Linked DNA regions of Homo sapiens: region 1 is linked to region 2. Evidence: promoter capture Hi-C in 16 types of primary human blood cells and fetal thymus (Javierre and others, 2016). All regions are on one chromosome and are shown on one strand. Each heading gives the region's core, a stretch centred on a gene start or on the middle of the fragment in contact. The rest is flanking DNA. Distances are from core to core; before and after follow the strand shown. Region 1 overlaps THUMPD3 (THUMP domain 3 tRNA guanosine methyltransferase). Region 2 holds the start of PRRT3 (proline rich transmembrane protein 3).

Region 1 (3,019 bases), core at 303-2,802, 570 kb after region 2:
AGGTCAGGCTGGGCATGGTAGCTTGTGCCTATAATCAGCACTTTCAGGGGCTGAGGTGGGAGGATCACTGGACTCCAGGAATTTGAGACCAGCTGAGCAACACTGTGAGACCTTGTCTCTAAAATACTTTTTTAAGAAGTTAGCAGGGCATGATGGCACACACCTATAGTCCCAGCTACTCAGGAGGCTGAGGTGGGAGGATCACTTGAGTCCAGGAGTTGAAAGATGCAGTGAGCTAGGATTGTGCCGCTTTACTCCAGCCTGGGTGACAGAGCAAGACCCCCGTCTCAGAAAAAAGGGAAACAAACTGAAAACATGATTGTAATGCAGAGAACTGCAAAAGACAACTTTAAAAACAATGCTGAAGCAGTAAATTACATAACCGATGATACAAAAATTTAAGTTGCTGATAAAACATACACTGGAGAAAAACAATACTAAAGAATAGATAATGGGGTGATGTATCTGAAGAATAAAGTTTGTAAAACTAGTAATAACAGGAGGCCTAAAAGAAAAACAGATAGTAAAATTGGCAAATATATAGGTAATTGTTTCAAGATGAAAAACCAAAAGGAAAATATGTGCCATGCTATATAAAACAAGACTAAGAAAAAAGTTAAGATAAAAAATATAGATGACAGAAGACAGAATGAATAATAATAAATACAAAGGATTTAAATCCTCCTCATTAAGGCAAAGCAACTGGTTTAAGAAACAAAATAATGCACAGGCTAAGAACTGAAGATAAGTCAAAGGTTATCAGCAGAAATTAAGGATTTAATTGACATTTAATGAAGAATTTAAGAAAAAAATGCAATAAAAGCAATCATTACATAATTTTTAAAAGTACACATAAAATATGTATTATAACCGCATACCAATAACTGCACAAAACAAAAGGCAAAAAATATTAAAAACCAAAGTAAAATGGATAGAAATGTACAGGTTGAGGCCGGGCACAGTGGCTCATGCCTGTAATCCCAGCACTTTGGGAGGCCAAGGTGGGCAGATCATGAGGTCAGGAGATTGAGACCATCCTGGCTAACATGGTGAAAACCCGTCTCTACTAAAAATACAAAAAAAAAATAAGCCGGGCATGGTGGCGGGTGCCTGTAGTCCCAGCTACTTGGGAGGCTGAGGCAGGAGAATGGCGTGAACCCGGGAGGCGGAGCTTGCAGTGAGCCGAGATCAAGCCACTGCACTCCAGCCTGGGCGACAGAGTGAGACTCCGTCTCAAAAAAAAAAAAAAAAAAAAAAAAAAAAAAAAAAAAAAAAAGTACGGGTTGAACAGACAGTGTAGGTACAAACAAGATAAAATATTCAGAAGCTAGAAAGGTACGTTTGTTTAAATGTTTATCAGTTTTAATTAAAAAAAAAAAAGACTGGCCATATACTAGGCTCATTAAAAAAAACCCTCAATAAATATGAAACAACCATTCAAAATTAATTCATCACAATAAATCAGTATTTAAGAAAATTGAAGCCTTCCAACTACTTGTCTTAATACACGTAAAAGGATTTAATGTTGATACATAGACCAGCAGCATCAGCATTGTCCTGGAGTTTCCTGGAAAATGCAGACTCTTAGGTCCCATCCCAAACTACTAAATCAGATCTGTGTTAACAGTACTCCTAGGTGATTCACATGTACATTAATGTTTGAGAAGCACTGTCCTAAAAAATTAGATCAGAGAGACAATGAAATATATAACCAATGACTTAGTAATAAAATAGAGGCGAGGCTATATAAACTGCAGTATTTCTATACGATGGAATTTATGTAGTGACTTTAAAGACTATGGTCCAGGTGTGGTGACTCGTCTCTAATCCCAGCAATTTGGAAGGCTGAAGCGGCAGAATCTCTTGAGGCCAGGAGTTTGACACCAGCCTGGACAAAACAGCAAGACCCCCATCTCTACGAAGATTTTAAAAAATTAGCTGGGCATGGTGGCACATGCCTGTATTCCTAGCTACTAGGGAGGCCAAGGCAGGAGGATTGCTTGAGCTCAGTAGGTTGAGGCTACAGTGAGCCATGATCATGTCACTGCACTCCAGCCTGGGTGACAAAATGAGACCCTGTACCCAAAGCAAAAAAGAAGCCTATGTAAAAATATACTGTTTAAAATTTTGTGAAATTAAAATGAGTCTATAAAATATTCTTCCAATATGTAGGGGAAAAGACATATGAATAAGACAAATGAAAAATTGCATATGGTGGGGAAATTATCGCTAAAATAATATTTTAAAAATATAACTTATTTTCAATAAACTTTAAAAATGTAAATGGAGTCTCATAGTATATTCATTTTGGTTACAATGACGTCACAATGCACTGGGAGTTTTAATTCATAAAGTCAATATAAAAAGTGATTCTCTAACTCTAAAAGATGCTAAGAAATCTTTTAAATTTTTACCCTTCTTTAATTTGGCTCTTGGTCAATAAAGATGCAATGTTATTTGCTGCTCTATTCACAGCCAGTGGATTATTATCACCAGCAATATGGAAACAGTCAGACCATTCAGTGGCCCCCTAAAAGATAAGAGTGTATGTTAAAACAAAAGTAGCAAACTGTAAAATATGATTAAATTGTCAACAAACAAAGAAAATCCAGTGCTTTTCTAGAGTGGCAAAACATTGCATGTTGTCAACTGTGCTATTTCCCTGGCTGAAAATGCCCTCTTATTCTTTCTCTGCTTGCTGAACCTCTACCCATCTCTTAAGACCCAGCTCAAACCTCATGCCCTTTCAACATCAACCTTAACTCTCCAAGCAGTCTTATGTGCCCCTCCCAAAAACACTTTGTATGTACGTACCTCTGCCACTGCACTTGTCCCACGGTTAATTATTTCTTCCCCTTTATGCCTCTCAACTAACCTGGGAGCTCTCTGAGGTCAGGTCTAGTATTTTATTCAGTTCCTCATCCAGCAGTGTCTGGCACACTAAATTCTAAGTTAATGCGGTTTGAAAATATTTGAGATTTGTGGTTGTGGGAGTTTACATAATCTGATATATTTGAAA
Region 2 (2,714 bases), core at 35-2,534:
TGGCCTCAGCCTCTGGAGTAGGTAGGACTACAGGCATGTACCACCACGCCCAGCTAGTTTTTTTGTTTTTTTGTTTGTTTTTTAATTTAAAAAAGTCTCACCATCTTGCCCATGCTGGTCTTGAACTCCTGGGCTCAAAATGATCCTCCTCTCTAGGCCTCCCAAAGTGCTGGGATTACAGGTGTGAGCTACTGCACCCAGCCCTATCTCATTTTTGATAACCACATATATTTCCTGTGTGGCTTTCCCTTAAGGAATTGAGCCTAATAATGGATGTTTAGTATATCAAGAGGTGTTCAAAGAAAGACCAAGAACATTTTGACAGTGTCTACCAGCCCCATATGCAGACCCATAGATTTTACTACCATGCCTCGGCTAGGCAATTATCTGGTAGGTGCACTAGTGTACGTGCACAGTGATGTGTTAAGCAAGGAATGGCCCCTGCTCCATTATCCCTGCGAGCAAAAGGCTAGAAACAACCTATGTCCAATTACAGGGGACAGGATAAAGAACAATAACTAGCTGACCATATGCTGGAATTCTCAACAGTGGATACAAGAAATGATATAGATCTATAGATATTTACATGAAAAATGTGCCAGAATATATTGGAAAGTGAAAAAGACAAATTACAGAAATGTGTACAGTGGCTGGGCACGGTGGCTGACGCCTGTAATCCCAACACTTTGGGGGTCCGAGGCGGGCTGATCACCTGAGGTCAGGAGTTCGAGACCACCCTGGCCAACATGGTGAAACCCTGTCTCCACTAAAAATATAAAAATTAGCCAGGCATGGTTACTAGGGAGGCTGAGGCAGGAGAACCACTTGAACCTGGGAGGCGGAGGTTGCAGTGAGCCGAGATCACGCCACTGCACTCCAGCCTGGGCGACAGAGCAAGACTGTCTCAAAAAAAAAAAAAAAAAGTATACAGTATGATGTCATTTCTATTTAAGATGTACATGTAACTGTACATTGAGAAGAATCTGAAGGATACATACCAAGCTGTAGGTAGGATTTACCTAAAAGGATGTAGGGATATAGAAAGGAAGTGAGCTCCCCGTCCCATGAGGTATGCAAGCAGAGGCTAGCTGCCCCGTTTTCAGGGATGCTGCAGAAGACATTTCCACATCCCTCAGAGATGACCTCGGTTCCACTCTGAGCCCTGACAATCCCTGAGCGAGGGGAAGTCAGGGTTGACAGAAGAGTCCACCCCTAAGGGGAAAGAGTTAAGCAGGGCTGCGCTCCTGTGGGCGGGCTCGCGATCGGCAGCGCCGGGCTCTGTTAGCCGAGTCTGAGCATCTCGGAGGATGCGGCGCGGCGATCGGCTGCAGGGACGCGCGCAAGGTGAACACGGGGGCTGCGGCGCGCAGGTGAGGAGCTGGCCCAGGGAGGGGGCGATGGCGGGACCCCGACGGGGAGCGTGGCCTGCTGCCCCCGTCGCGGGCGCAGGCGACCAGGCCTGCACGGCGCCCACCCCCATCCAGGACACTGCGGGAAGGCGCGGAGCCAGGGAGAGAGGAGACGGAGGAGGAGGAGGAGGAGGAGGAGAGGTAACCCGAGATGGACCAGCTCCGAGGCTGCCCCGCAACGGCCTCGCCCTGCCCCCAGGCCGGCCTCTCCCCAGTCCCTGCGGCAGAGAGATCCGCCACCCCCCACAGCCTCTCCAGCAGAGTGGGAGCCCAGGGCTGGGCAAGCCCCCGCCTTGTCCGCAGGTGCCCACATCTCTTGGGTTGGCAGTGGTAGGCAGATGGCATGTTTATCTTTGGAGGCCCCATTCAGCCGTTTTCTCGGCAAAGCTTTTTGGACCTCCTGTGGAAGATGAGCCTCCGAGGGTTTCACAACCCCGATTGTGTCCACTCAGCTGTGTGACCTTGGGGGAGTTGCTCACCCTCTCTGAACCCCCGTTTCTTCCCCCTGTGAAATGGCTGTTCCCACACCTTGTATTGGGAGGGCGGAGTGACGTGTTGCTAAGCTCAGCGCAGGAGCCTCACTGGGAAAGAACTAAACACAGGAGCACTGTTTTTAGCCAGTACCTGTGTTAGGGGCGTCTCAGCGCACCCCTACTCCCAACCCTGGAGCAAAGCCCTGTCTCTGGGCCCCCAGCACCTAGCCTAGACCAGGAGCAGCCCATGGGGCTCCGTGAATGTTTGAGAAATGAACTAACAAGGCTTTAAGACAGAGTCTAAACTCGAGTTTGGAGGATGGGACTCAAAGGTCTTTGAACCCCTTGAAATTGTTCACAACTTTCGGTGAGCCTGGGTCTTTTCCCCGGGAGAGCACCAGGGGTTTTCAGTGGCTTCTTAAGGTGTCTGTGAGCCACCATGGGTTAACAGCCAGGAAGCTTTGGGGACAGCTGCTCCCCAGAGAGGAAAAGAGCAGGGCCTCTGCCGCCAAACACACCCAGGCTTCAGCTCTCGCACCCTCCATGAAACCTCTCCTGGTGGTGGGGCCCCTTCCTGCCTCCCTGGCCCACTGACAGGCTCTCGAGAACAGGAACTTTTAGGGGATATCCACGTGGGGCCAGGTATATACTGGAGGCTGCAGGTTTGAAATAAGAGGCAGGAGATTATTATAGAATCAGACCAGAGTGACAAGTGCCCAGGAAGATGAGGGAAGGAAGGCGGGAAGAGGAATGTGTAACGCTTGTCAAGCATCAGGTATGAACCTCGCCCATACCTGTTTGGTTATTTGTCTCATGCCTTGAGTTAGGCATG

What was found. Contacts are between HindIII fragments. The CHiCAGO score rates a contact against its expected background, and 5 or more counts as called.
Region 1: a contact is called between a fragment that was not itself captured here and the fragment with the promoter of PRRT3 in region 2, in 1 of 17 cell types (activated CD4 T cells). The highest score is 5.8, in activated CD4 T cells.

Annotation. Positions count from the first base shown.
Region 1 is chr3:9,380,014-9,383,032 of GRCh38, reverse strand. THUMPD3 (THUMP domain 3 tRNA guanosine methyltransferase) reads right to left here. Exons shown (of 10, transcript NM_001114092.2): 7 at 2,415-2,530. Among named protein-coding and RNA genes, the nearest start is that of THUMPD3-AS1, 15 kb to the left of the region's middle. The HindIII fragment of the contact is 6,287 bases long and covers 1-3,019 here.
Region 2 is chr3:9,950,978-9,953,691 of GRCh38, reverse strand. It overlaps PRRT3 (proline rich transmembrane protein 3), which reads left to right and starts at 1,284. Exons shown (of 4, transcript NM_207351.5): 1 at 1,284-1,370. All of the region lies in intron 3 of PRRT3-AS1 (PRRT3 antisense RNA 1), which reads right to left. RefSeq lists a silencer at 1,246-1,785. The HindIII fragment of the contact is 9,295 bases long and covers 1-1,798 here.